Regions from separate parts of the Homo sapiens genome. Here regions 1, 2 and 4 are each linked to region 3. The links are contacts of gene promoters, found by promoter capture Hi-C in blood cells and fetal thymus (Javierre and others, 2016). All regions are on one chromosome and are shown on one strand. Each heading gives the region's core, a stretch centred on a gene start or on the middle of the fragment in contact. The rest is flanking DNA. Distances are from core to core; before and after follow the strand shown. Region 1 overlaps CNOT9 (CCR4-NOT transcription complex subunit 9). Region 2 overlaps USP37 (ubiquitin specific peptidase 37). Region 3 holds the start of GPBAR1 (G protein-coupled bile acid receptor 1). Region 4 overlaps USP37 (ubiquitin specific peptidase 37).

Evidence for each region. The method cuts DNA at HindIII sites, captures the fragments that hold promoters and counts their contacts. A CHiCAGO score of 5 or more calls a contact.
Region 1: a contact is called between a fragment that was not itself captured here and the fragment with the promoter of GPBAR1 in region 3, in 7 of 17 cell types (neutrophils, monocytes, naive CD8 T cells and 4 more). The highest score is 10.3, in neutrophils.
Region 2: a fragment that was not itself captured here is called in contact with the fragment with the promoter of GPBAR1 in region 3 in 1 of 17 cell types (neutrophils); the score reaches 7.6 in neutrophils.
Region 4: a contact is called between a fragment that was not itself captured here and the fragment with the promoter of GPBAR1 in region 3, in 12 of 17 cell types (neutrophils, total CD4 T cells, non-activated CD4 T cells and 9 more). The highest score is 11.2, in neutrophils.

Annotation. Positions count from the first base shown.
Region 1 is chr2:218,580,946-218,583,998 of GRCh38, reverse strand. It overlaps CNOT9 (CCR4-NOT transcription complex subunit 9), which reads right to left. Exons shown (of 8, transcript NM_005444.3): 3 at 913-1,028. Among named protein-coding and RNA genes, the nearest start is that of CNOT9, 14 kb to the right of the region's middle. The HindIII fragment of the contact is 8,800 bases long and covers 1-3,053 here.
Region 2 is chr2:218,534,898-218,538,057 of GRCh38, reverse strand. All of the region lies in intron 8 of USP37 (ubiquitin specific peptidase 37), which reads left to right. Among named protein-coding and RNA genes, the nearest start is that of USP37, 32 kb to the left of the region's middle. The HindIII fragment of the contact is 1,789 bases long and covers 878-2,666 here.
Region 3 is chr2:218,259,378-218,262,754 of GRCh38, reverse strand. It overlaps GPBAR1 (G protein-coupled bile acid receptor 1), which reads right to left and starts at 1,740. Exons shown (of 2, transcript NM_170699.3): 1 at 1,539-1,740; 2 at 1-75. The coding sequence starts at 30. RefSeq lists an enhancer at 488-1,293. The HindIII fragment of the contact is 11,967 bases long and covers 1-3,377 here.
Region 4 is chr2:218,561,872-218,565,247 of GRCh38, reverse strand. USP37 (ubiquitin specific peptidase 37) reads left to right here. Exons shown (of 26, transcript NM_020935.3): 2 at 2,435-2,575. Among named protein-coding and RNA genes, the nearest start is that of USP37, 4.8 kb to the left of the region's middle. The HindIII fragment of the contact is 3,573 bases long and covers 1-3,209 here.

The DNA of each region.
Region 1 (3,053 bases), core at 10-2,509, 320 kb before region 3:
CAAAGCAGCCATTATCAGGCTTACCTGCTATACTTTAATAAGCACATTCTTCTTTTTTTGTTAGGGCATTTCAGATACACAAACCATTCTGAAAACAGTTTAGTCAGGCAACTAATAAGGAAATCAGTCTATTATTTTATATTATTTATAGTTACACCTTGTAGAAGAGCCAACGCCCAAGATTTTTAACACTCAAAGTACTCTTGTGTTTTTGTTAAGTGCTTAAAAGTAATTTTCTTAGTAATTTCTCTAAAGCTGTGTAAGGTCAGTGCCAACCTAGCATACATATTTCATAAGGAAACTTGACAAAGAGGAAAGGCTTTAATAAGATGACTATTAAGTGCCTTTGGGGCCATAAAAGCCCACAAAGTAGATTCCTGAACAGGATTTCCCTTTTCTTAATTTTTTAGATATGACAGGTGGCAAAAATATTTTAACTTACATGCCAATTCTCGTCTATTATAGAGGCCGCCCAGAATGCTATGTTAAGAAGGATTCTGAAGTCAAATCTGGGTTCAGTGTGGGAAAAGTGCTGGAAAAATAATTACTAAACTCCTCTTATATGCCATGCACTATGCCTCACAGATGACATAGTGTCAATAACAGGTCAGGGAGTGAGAAGTAGCTGTATGCCTGATACCTTTCCTGTAATGTGAACACTGTTTCTTTAAAGTTCATTGGGTAAAAGTAAATAAGAATCCGGAAGACCAGGAGAGAGAGAGAGAGAGAGAGAGAGAGAGAGAGAGAGAGAGAGAGAGAGAGAGACACACACACACACACACACACACACACACACACACACACAAACGTTCTCTCTCTCTCTCCTCCATGCCCTTCCTTTTATTATTCAGAGAACGTTTAGGACCATATTCAATGTATATCTCCCCCAAGTGACTCACCCAAAGCATTTACCTGGTTTCTGGATGTGATGCTACACATTGCAGTAATGCCAGAGCATTGCAAACTCTGTTAGACTGGTGTGCTGTCAAGGTGGGTGGGTTGATAGATGGATAAATATTTACAATTTCCTAAAAAATGGAAATCAGCATCAGATGAATAAGGAATAACTAAAAATTAATTCCCATGGTAATAAAGCAAAAAAAAAAAAAGGCAAATAAAATAGCTCTTAATTCTGTGCATCTTTTAAGAACTCAGTCATCAAAGAGGGAGCAGAAATAATGCTCATATCCTTTCATCACAAACTTACTTGGCTGAGACTAGCTAAGACATTTCTACATTTGTCTCTAGGAAGATTTTTTTTTTTGAGACTCACATTTCTACATTTGTCTCTAGGAAGATTTTTTTTTTTGAGACGGAGTCTCGCTCTGTTACCCGGGCTGGAGTGCAGTGGCACGATCTTGACTCACTGCAAGCTCTGCCTCCCAGGTTCACACCATTCTCCTGCCTCAGCCTCCAGAGTAGCTGGGACTACAGGCGCCTGCCACCACGCCCAGCTAATTTTTTGTATTTTTAGTAGAGATGGGGTTTCACCGTGTTAGCCAGGATGGTCTCGATCTGCTGACCTCGTGATCTGCCCGTCTCGGCCTCCCAAAGTGCTGGGATTTCAGGCGTGAGCCACTGCGCCCGGCCTAGGAAGATTTCTGTGGAGGCAAATGTAGTCATCTACACTTCCTCTTATATTCTCCAGCTACTGAGGCTATCAGTTGAGGGATACTCAAATTTTTATAATTTTGCTAGCATCCTGCTTTAAGTTACAGTGATGAGATCACTGGCCAGAAAGTGTTAAGTCAACCACGGTGACTCATAAAGAAGTTTGAATTTGGTTAGGTAGTAACATGGTAAGGACATGAATCAATGGGTGGGGATATGTATAAACAGCAGTGAATATATGCACTATCTGTCAAAAAGTAATGATTTACTCAATACAATTCCATTTACATTTTTTTTCTTTTTTTTTGAGACAGGGTCTCACTCTGTCATCCAGGCAGAGTGCAGTGGCATGATCATGGCTCACTGCAGCCTCCACCTCCTGGGCTCAATTGATCCTCCTACTTCAGCTTCCCAAGTAGCTGGGATTACAGGAGTGTACCACCAAGCCTGGCTAATTTTTGTATTTTTTGTAGAAATGGTGTTTCGCCATGTTGCCCAGGTTGGTCTCAAACTCCTGGGCTCAAGCAATCCTCCTAACTCAGTCTGCCAAACTGCTGGGATTACAAGCATGACCCACTGCACCTGGCTACAATTTTCCATTTACATTATTTGTAAAACTTTTACATAGAAAAACGTTCCCATAACAAAGATCAGTTTCTTGGCTAAATGCAATAGAGATGGAATGTGAATTTACTTAAGAGTTGAAAAGTTAATCTAATTGTTAGGAATTTGGGGCAATACTTTAATGGATGATCATGCCACTACCTAGGTATTTTGGTATTGTTATTGTACCATATCAGTTAATTAGCCACCAGTGACCATTCTGGTTTGAACTGAACTTCAGTTATCTATTCTTTAATGTACAAGTGTACCCACCTTTAATACTACAGCTGTTATACCTTCAACATTTCCTTTCCAGGCCAGGCATGGTGGCTCATGCCTGTAATCTCAACATTTTGGGAGGCCAAGGTGGGTGGATCACGAGGTCAGGAGTTCAAGATCAGCCTGACCAACATGGTGAAACTCCGTATCTACTAAAAATTAAAAAAAAAAAAGCCAGGCATGGTGATGCAGGCCTATAATCCCAGCTACTCAGGAGGCTGAGGCAGGAGAACCACTTCAACCCGGGAGGCAGAGGTTGCAGTGAGCCGGGATTGCACCATTGCACTCTAGTCTGGGCGACAGAGCGAGATTCCGTCTCAAAAAAAAAAAAAAAAGAAAAACAAACAAAAAAACCCAAAAACCCATTTCTTTTCCATAGAATATATTGTACCTTGTGGTCCTTATACTCTACTTTCCACCTTCCTCCCCCTGTCATGTAGATTTATCTTACAGTACTCCTAAAGCGGTGTTCGTCAAAGCGTAGTTCTTAGATCACTTGCATCACAATCACCTGGGGGAGGTGAAAGTGCTTATTAAAATATAGATTATAGGGCCCACCT
Region 2 (3,160 bases), core at 523-3,022, 280 kb before region 3:
CTTGGGCCCAATTCCAATATACCTGCTTCCATTTTATGATGAATTGCTGTTGTACTCTCCTGGTCTTATCACTTCATGGGTGTGATAGCACTTAGCTCCTGATGGTTAGCTCTGGTTGCACAGTCCCTTGATGACCATCAGTCAGATGCTCTGTCTCTTCCAGGGCTTAATAATATGCCAAGAGTAGTATGCCATACTTTACAGATGAGGTATAATTTTTGGCTGCAGACAGCATGGTCTTGCTTTACAAGGTCTGGGCTGCAACTCTCCTGTGGGTGACTCTACACATTGTCTTTGTCCTTTAAGTTGGTAATTGGCTCAACTGAGCCTGTCTTCTCTCTTGAACACATAAATACTCAGCATCAACCAGTCAATTCCATAGTCTTTTTGATGATTATTTACCTGATATCACCTACATCTTATCTGTTGCTGTATCCAAACCACTCCAAAATTTAGTGACTTGAAATAGTAACTATTCATTTTTGCTTATGAATTTATGGTCACCTGGGTGGTTCTGTTTATCTGGGCCCAGTTTGGCTCATAGTACCTGGATTCTAATTTTGTTACGCCTCTGTAGTCAGTAGATGGTTTGGCTAGAGTTTGACTGGTCTAGGATGGCCTCACTCATATAACTGGCCATTGAGTGGTGGGCGTGATTGGGCCATGTGTCTTCCACTGTTAACAGGCTAGCCTGGGATTATTCACATAGCAGTGGCAGGGTTCCAAGAGAGTGAGTGGAAACCTGCAGGGCACCTTTAGACTTAGGGTCAGAACTCACACACTGTTAACTTCTGTCACATTGTTTTGGGAAAAGGAAATCACAGGACTAGCCCCATTAAGGGATGAAGAAATAGACTGAATTTATTGATTAGAAGCTTGAATATAGGGAGTGAAATAATTTGCGACATTTTAAAAACAACTTTATTAAGCTACAATTTACATACCATGTAATTGACCCATTTTAAGGGTATATAAGTCAATGATTTTTAGTAAATTTTTTTAGTTATATTACGTCATCATTATCTAGTTTCAGAACATTTCCATTACCCCAATACGATCTATTGTGTAATCATTCTACCACATTTCTAAAATACTGGAGATACTGCGTGAGCCCTATCCTTCTCTACCTTATTTCATCCTAATTCACCATAGGTGAAAATCTTAGCAATTGTAACACTATAAGATGTCAGAGGTATTACTATCAGCAACAGAATTTCTGTTGCCATTGCCAAACAAGGGTCCAATTCCAGAATCCTATCCTTAGAGTGTGCTTCCTAGGCCCACTTTTAGTACCAGCTGTTGTAGATTATGTTCCCCAGAAGCAGAATCTGAAATGGAGATTAGTGTGCATGTGAATTACTAAGGAAGTACTCCCAGAGAAGATAGTGAAGGGAGTAAGGAAAGCAATATAGTTAAGGGCAGGAAACAAAGCATGGATGTGATCCTGGAGAAGTCACACAAGGACATGAAGGTTAGTCTTCATCCTGATATTACAGAAATCTGTTATGTAGCTTCCACCATAAAGTTGTTTTAATCCAAATCAGGAGAGCTGGGCTTCTCTACTGTAGCGCCCGGCCTTGTTTGTGACTCTGAGATTACAGGCAAAGTATCTCTAGTAACTTGAGGGCAGTCCTGTGAAGAAGAGCCCTTGGTACTGGCTATCAAAAACATAAGTTGGTGTGAAGATATGGAAGAGAGAATATAAAAATGAGTCAGTGGGAATCTAGGTGGGGCACACTTAGGCATTGTCTGCCACAGGCTTAGTTCATGATGGTTCCCCTTAAATTAGCACTGTTAAAGCATGAACATTTATTTGAATGGACACTCTCTACTTATATGGGTTGAGGTATTTGAAAATAATACAGGGGAGAAAAGGGCTTTTAAAAGAAATTTTAACTTTGTATTCATGATCCTAAAGAATTTTAATCAATATAAATTAAAATGCTGTTGCTGCTTAGCAAATAGTATTGCTATTCATGTGGAATACACAGTTTTGATTTTGATTTTTCTTTTCCTTTTTTTTTTTTTTTTTTTTTTTTTGAGATGAAGTCTCGCTCTTGTCACCCATTCTGGAGTGCAATGGCGTGATCCCTGGCTCACTGCAACCTCTGCCTCTGGGTTCAAGCAATACTTCTGCCTCAGCCTCCTGAATAGCTGGGATCACAGACGCCTGCCACCACGCCTGGCTAATTTTTTTTTTTTTGAGACAGAGTCTCGCTCTGTCACCCAGGCTGGAGTGCAGTGGCGCGATCTTGGCTCACTGCAAGCTCCGCCTCCCGGGTTCACGCCATTCTCCCACCTCAGCCTCCTGCGTAGATGGGACTACAGGTGCCCGCCACCACGCCCAGCTAATTATTGTATTTTTAGTAGAGACAGGGTTTCACTGTGTTAACCAGGATGGTCTTGATCTCCTGACCTCATGATTCACCTGCCTCGGCCTCCCAAAGTGCTGGGATTACAGGTGTGAGCCACTGCATCCAGCCCACTCCCAGCTAATTTTTGTATTTTTAATAGAGATGGGGTTTCCCACGTTGGCCAGGCTGGTCTCGAACTCCCAACCTCAGGTGATCCGCCCGCCTCGCCCTCCCAAGCTGCTAGGATTAAGGCTTGAGCCACCGCGCCCAGCCTGATTTGTTTTTCTTTGTAAACCTATAAACTGCCAAGCTTGAACATTGTACTTTTTTTTTTTTTTAAGACTAAGACTCACTCTGTTGCCCAAGCTGGAGTGCAGTGGCGCGATCACGGCTCACTGCAACCTCCACCTCCCAGGTTCAAGTGATTCTCCTGCCTCACAGCCTCCCGAGTAGCTGGGACTACAGGAACGCGCCACCATGCTTGGCTAATTTTTGTATTTTTAGTTGAGACGGGGTTTCACTATGTTGGCCAGGCTGGTCTCGAACTCCTGACCTCGCGATCTGCCCGCCTCAGCCTCCCAAAGTGCTGGGATTACAGGAGTGAGCCACCGCGCCTGGCCACAGTTTACTTTTTAATTGATTCTTTTGGTCTTAGTAGCTGAATCATTTTATCTGGTCTTGCTTTTGGCCAAGAAAATCTAATAATCTTGCTGTCTCTGATTTGACTTTTATATAAAGAAAAATGCTCCTTTACTTTTGCTAAGTTATCAGAGTCATGGATTGGATTGGCTCTTGAGATAGTAATT
Region 3 (3,377 bases), core at 491-2,990:
GGGCACCTCGCCAGTGCTGTTGGGCGTCATCTTGGTCCTGGGGACAGGGGAGTCCTGGAGCGGCAGCCGGCATGCCTGCAGGATGGGGTGGCCAGAGTTAGGATGGGGCTGCAGGTCGTGTCCTCCTGGCAGGGCAGCATGTTAATCCAGGGGCGCAGACCCGCAGGCTGTGGGCTGTATCATGTTCGCTGATACACAGAATTTTTCAATTAATTGCCAATTAAACATTTATATAAAAAACTATCTTTGGTTTCTATTGAAAATTCAGGTCTGGCAACACATATGTCCTGTGTGGTAGCAACCAGCCGGAGCTCACTGCTGGCTGCCCTTCGGACAGTCCCCACCCAGCCAGCTTTATCCATTTCTGGTATCTGCCTTTTCTGGGCAGCTGTGTTGAGGTCTCTTGTTTAGACTGAAAGGCGGGCCCATCCAGCCCCAAAGCATTTTGTGTATCCCTGCCTCCACCGGGGAGGCCTCTAAATGAGAGAATGGACCAGGGCTGGCTGGTGTGTAGTGGTCTTCCAGCCAGCCATTAGGTGACAGGCTCCAGCGGGCCAGGTCTCGGGCACCCTGCACCCTTCCCCCCATCTGTCCTTGTAGCCATCACAGCTCAGTGAGCAGCCTCCGGGTAGGACTTCCAGCCCATAAACTTGACTCGTCTTTGCTCCACACTAGCAACAGGGTCCTTCCTGGGAGCTGGAGGGAGGAGAGAAGCAGCTGGAGGGCACGTGTGGCAGTGAACGTGGAGATGCCAGCAGCAAGGAGAGGGACTCCCCCACACCCCCAGGCCTGAGGCTGAGCCCAGAGGAGAGGGAAGAGGAGTCTGGGCAGAGTCTGGCTTCTCTGTGGCTCTCATCTGTCCCTGTCCTTCCCGTCATTCCCTGGTCTCAGTCCTCCAGTGTCATGGCTCTGCTGCCACATCCTGGGGACAGGGGGAGGGGTCCTGGGTCCTGTGGGAACTCCTGCTTCTGTCAACAGGGGAGCAGCTGCTGTTGCTAGGATCCAAGTCAATAAGGAAAGGATTCATACCTCTCCCCTCCTCCAGGACAGGGGATCAGGGCCCCATGGCTGCCCTGAGCTGAGAGGAAGGAAGATGCTCCCCTTCCTTCCCAGGTTCCCCCAGCACCCTGAGCCTGGGCCTCCAAGGCCTTATGCCCCCTTTCCCCTCCCCTAAGCATGTTTTCTCTTTCTCAATCTCTTCCAGTGCCCTCCACCCAGGATGTCTTTTCCTCTCTAGAGGCCTTGCAGTTTCTGTTCCCTTTCCCAGGGCATCATCAACTCTCTTAAGTCCCGTGAGACTCAGGGTCCATTACCCCAAACCTGGCCTGAGCTGGAGCTCCCAGCCCTAATCGGAATGATTCCCCCCAACCCACCTCCACTAGAACAGCGACAAAGGCAGGGAGCAGCCCCCAGGGGTGATTTCCCAGCAGGGTGCAGGCTGTACCACCTGCACACCCCCGAGGGTCTGGTGGCTTGGGCTGGGTGTAGTAGCCTCTCCAGGATCTGGGGTTTGGGGGTTTGGGGGAGTAGCTACTCACATGGCTGTTGGGAGCAGGTATTGCCTGCCCAGCCTGGGCCTTCCTGAGTGTCAGGGAGTTGCTGCAGCCAGCCCTGCAGCGGTTTGGACCATGTCTGGTGTCCTGGCTGAAGAGCACAAGTGGACCAAGTGCATGGTGTCTCCACCCAGTGGGGACAGCGGGGCCAGGCTCTCCTACCCAGGCTCTGCCCGTCTGGGTTCTCAGAGGGATAGAGAAATGAGGCTGGCAGGACTCAGCCCTGGCCCCGCCTCTGGGAGGGTGGGACCTGACATATTCCAAACTGCAGCAACTGGGAGGCCTGCCTCCCCCTCCCACCCAGTTCCCCTCTCCCCCTGCCACCTAGGTGGCAGTTTCCCTACTCCAGCTCGGAGTAATCTGAGAAATGCATTCCAGTTAATGAATAATAATGATTGACTTACCCCTCCCGACTTCCCGCCTCAGCTGATGCATTTACATTTAAGCCCCTGGACTGGCCAGCCAGCTGACAGCACACCAGGCTCCCTCCACACTTCCGTGTGTGATGGTGGCAGTGGCAGGTGTTTGGGGCCTGAGGATCTTCACTCCCCCATCCCATCACCTGATGGGCCTTTCAGTTTCTAAGGCCAGACTTGCCTTCCTGAATCTGGGGTCATTCCACACTTTTCTCAACTGCTTTCTGAGTCAAGTTCTGAACTATGAGGGACAAATGGCTCTGGGGATGTGACCATGGGTAAGGTACTACTGGGCCTCGGTTTTTGCCTGTGTTAAAATGGGAACAAGAAAAACCACCTCTAATTAAGGTCGTGGTGGGGAATATCACAGGATAACACATATGGCGGCATATACCCCAGTGCATGGCCCTTGATGGGTGGGGGTTTGCCCCAACAAATGGCTCCCTCTCTTTCCTCCCCCATGATGAAGAGGCATGAGCTGGCGCTGGAATCAGAGCTGTCTGGATCCTTTTTTAAAAAAGCCAGTGAACTTGGGCAAATGACTAAAGTTCCCTTGCCTTAGTTTCCTCATCTGTCAAATGGGGCCCATAGTTGTACTCACCTATCGTGAGACTAAATGAAGTCCCGTGTGATGAGGACTCAGATCAACACTTGGCCCTTCAGCACTCCGCGACAGGCAGCGATCGCTGGGAACATTATTAGGATTTCTGCCTTTCTCTGCACCTGGCCCCTCTAAGACAGATCTGCTGAGAGGGGCGCATGGGGAGCTTGGGAAAAGCAAGAGGGGAGTGACACTCTTGCTGCACAGGGAAGCTGAGGAAACCAGATACATTGAGAGGGAAGGGCAAGTTCAAGGCTGGGAAGCCAGAAGTGGTGCTTTGATTTCCACCTTGTATCAAGTGCGGCTTTGGAGTGAGGGGGAGGAGAGAAGCCCAGCCACACTCCCTTAAGGCCTGAAATGGGAGGGAACAGGCGGAAATTGCAGCAGGAAAGCTGGGACTGGGGGTGAGACATTAGGAAACACTTGCTGGCTGAAGAGCGCAAGTAAATGGAGCAAAGGGACTCTGGTGCTCTCCGGGAGAGCTGGGCCTGAAGGGCTGGAAGCCCGTGGAGTGTGGCTGTGCCAGCTCTGCACAGCCAGTCAGGGATCCTGGAGATCAGGGACTTCTGTTGGGACAAAAAGTGGGAAGAGGAAAGCATCCAGCCTCAAGTCCATCCTCGAGGGAGCTGGTGGGTCGGAAGGACGCAGGGTTCCAGGGCCGGTCCTCAGAACCACGGGATCTGGTCGGGCAGAAGTCACAGGCTCTGGGAGAGTTCAGCCTGGGGCCTGGACAGAAGTGGGTGTGGGACCCTTCTGATATGTGACTTCCAGGAATAAACAGACCTCCTGTTCCCAGCCCCAGCCTGC
Region 4 (3,376 bases), core at 174-2,673, 300 kb before region 3:
AATGACAAAGAAAATATTAATATATGGCCAGCTGCATTGGCTCATGCCAGTAATCCCAGCATTGCGGGAGACCAAGGTGGGCGGATCGCTTGAGCCCCGGAGTTCGATACCAGCCTGGGCAACATGGCAAAACCCCATGTCTATAAAAAATTACAAAAATTAGCCGGGTTTGGTGGCATGTGCCTGTAGTCCTAGCTACTTGGGAGGCTGAGGTGGGAGGATTGCTTCAGCCTAGGAGGTGGAGGTTGCAGTGAGCCAAGATGGCACCACTGTGTTCCAGTCTGGGTGACAGAATGAGGTTCTGTCTCAAATGAAAAAGAAAGAAAATATTAAAATATAATAATTTTTGTATGTGTAGAACAGGATTCGTGTTGAAAAATAGGGAATTTAAAATGGAGGTGTATGAATACCAAACACAAGCATTTGGATTTATTTTATTTTCTAGGTAGTGATGAGCTATTTAGTTTGGGAAGGTCCTAGCATCAATGGCAACCATTTAGCACTTAACAAGTGTTTGTTATTTTGTTGGAGTATACAGTTAGAGTACCCAAGTTCTGTGTGTTACCTCCCTGTCCCGTGCCCCACCTCTACCCCCCACTCCCACCTTAGGGAGAAAGTTAAGAAGATACCTAGTGCATAGTTCAGTTGAAAAGTGGTAAAAAGAGTAGTTCTTTAGAAAGGATGTTACAATGTAAAGGATTTGTTGGAGGTAAAACCCCAAGAGCTGAGACTGGAAAGGGAAGGGGTTGCCATAATTCATTGATGAGGATGAACTGTGGTTGTAGTTAAAAATGTAGGTTCTGGCATTAGACATAGCTTTGTTTCTCACTGACTGTATTTATAAATTATGTAATGTCTCTAAACCTCAGTTTCCTCATCTGTGAAATAGAGATAATATCCCTATCACTTAGGATTATTTTAAAAATTAAATTGAGATAATGCATGTATGGCATTTAGCACTGCTTAGTAAATGTTGCATAATAAATGTTGGGTTGCATAATAAATACTAGGTGGGATGATGGCATAGTGATGAGTTTCTGAGAGTAGTAGCTATTGAAAATCTGGGATTTGAGTAGATAAGAGTGAGGATAAAGCTGATGCCAAGATTTCTTGCCTGAATGATGGTAGAAGGACAAAAGTAGGGAAGTCTGGGAGCTTCTTTTTTTTTCTTTCTTTTGAGACGGAGTCTTGCTCCCTCACCCAGGCTGGAGTGTAGTGGTGTGATCTCTGCTCCCTGCAACCTTTGCCTCCCAGGTTCAAATGACTCTCCTGCCTCAGCCTTCCAAGTAGCTGGAACTACAGGTGTGTGCCACCACACCCAGCTAAATTTTGTATTTTTAGTGAGAACACATTGTGGTCTCAATGTGTTCGAGACCACATTGGCCAGGCTGGTCTCGAACTCCTGACCTCAGGTGATCTGCCTGTCTCTGCCTCCCAAAGTGCTGGGATTACAGGTGTGAGCCACCGTGCCTGGCCTCTAGGAGCTTCTTAATGAGGGCATGGACTGTATCATCTTCACATCTATATGCCTACCAGGGTGCCTTGAAAGTGCAGTAGCTTAATAAATGTTGTTTACTAAATGAACAAAGGAGTTTAAAGTTGATGTTGTAGCATTCAGATAGGCAGTGAGAGATGTGCGGGTAGAACTTCAGAGAAAGTTCAGGCCTAGTGAAGCCTAATTTGAGAAACAATGTTAGCTTTGAAAGAAAAGTGAAAGCACCAAGTTTACCCACCTTTTGAAATAGTATCAACATGTTATGGAAGTTTTAAGACTTAAGACATTATTATGTAACAATGTTTATAAAGTGAACAAAGGACATATTCTTTCTCACTGACTTCTTAGTTTCAAAATGTAGCAAGAATGAATAAACCAAGGTACAAGTTGAACAAGGTGCAGGCTCATCCTGTAATCCCTCATTATGCACAGCAGATAAGTTCCTAAAGTTCTGTTGATCTTTTATGTGTGTCTCTGTGTGTTGTGCATCATATTTTAAATATTTTCATTAAGGTAATCTGTAGTTTTTAAATAACCAAGAAGTTAATCTTTGTTGTATAAACGATCACTTTCCTTTTTTTTTTTTTTTGAGATGGAGTTTTGCTCTTGTTGCCCAGGTTGGAGTGCAATGGCGTGATCTCTGCTCACTGCAACCTCCACCTCCTGGGTTCAAGCAATTCTCCTGCCTCAGCCTCCCGAGTAGCTGGGATTACAGACATGCACTGCCACGCCCAGCTAATTTTGTATTTTTAGTAGAGACGGGGTTTCTCCATGTTGGTCAGGCTGGTCTCGAACTCCTGACCTCAGGTTATCTGCCCGCCTCCACCTCTCAAAGTGCTGGGATTACTCGCGTCAGCCACCGTGCCCAGCCCACTTTCTTTTAAGTATTAATTTTGTATATTGGGTTCTTTTTAAAAAGCACATTTTTATTTTCTTTAGCTGAGTTGATGGCTTCCGGAGAACTGGCATAGCTGCAGAATATGAGTAGTGTCCCAAGAAGAGTGCTTTGCCTTTGGCACAAGGATCAGAATAAAGGTGAATTGCTATTACATAGGGTTTTTCGGTAAAAGTCACTGAAAAGTAAGTAATGTTTTTGTTTTGGATATATGTTTCAAAGAGCATGCAATCTGGCGGGAACTGACAGTTTTGTGTTTGTTTTGTAGTAATAGTTTTTGTGTTTTGGCCATACTTTATTTACCACTGAATGCTCTCTGATTAAGGATGTTTTCAAAGCAGTACCTAAAATGTGAGCACTTAAATAAATGTACAGGGCATAGAAACATTTTTGCTAATATTGTTGCTTTGAGCATTCATGGTGATGCTCAAAGTTGAACAGTAATTTTAATAATTGTGAAGAAATTTAGAGAAAGAATCTCTGGACATATTTAAAGAATAATTCATTTTAATTATCTTTTGTCTTCTTATTTTTTTGCTTTAATAAGACAATTACCATTACCGAGTTTAAGGAAACCCTGTCTTTGTCTTAGGTTCATAGGAAGTTTAACTGTTACTGGATCATGCTTCATGCTGAAAAAGAAACTTAGTTTTTTACTCTTAACCAAGTAGAGCAAGCCCTGATAATATAATGAATGAGCAAATGTAGCTGTCAATTCATTTAGTGCAAAAGCAGGTAATGAACTAAATTGAGGCATTATGAAAAAGTTTATTATATTGGTTCTGCCAATTTTATGTCCTACATCTTTTATATAAAGCTTTTTAAAGAGGGTAATGTGTAAATTGAGTCTTGATTTTAGAGCCAGGAGAAGAAATTAAGGAGGGTTGGGGATGGGGAGAACACATAAAAATCCTCTAGACATGACCTCTGTGTATGCAAAGGTATAGTGGCATGAGAACATAGAGATTTTTGAGGAAATTATAAGT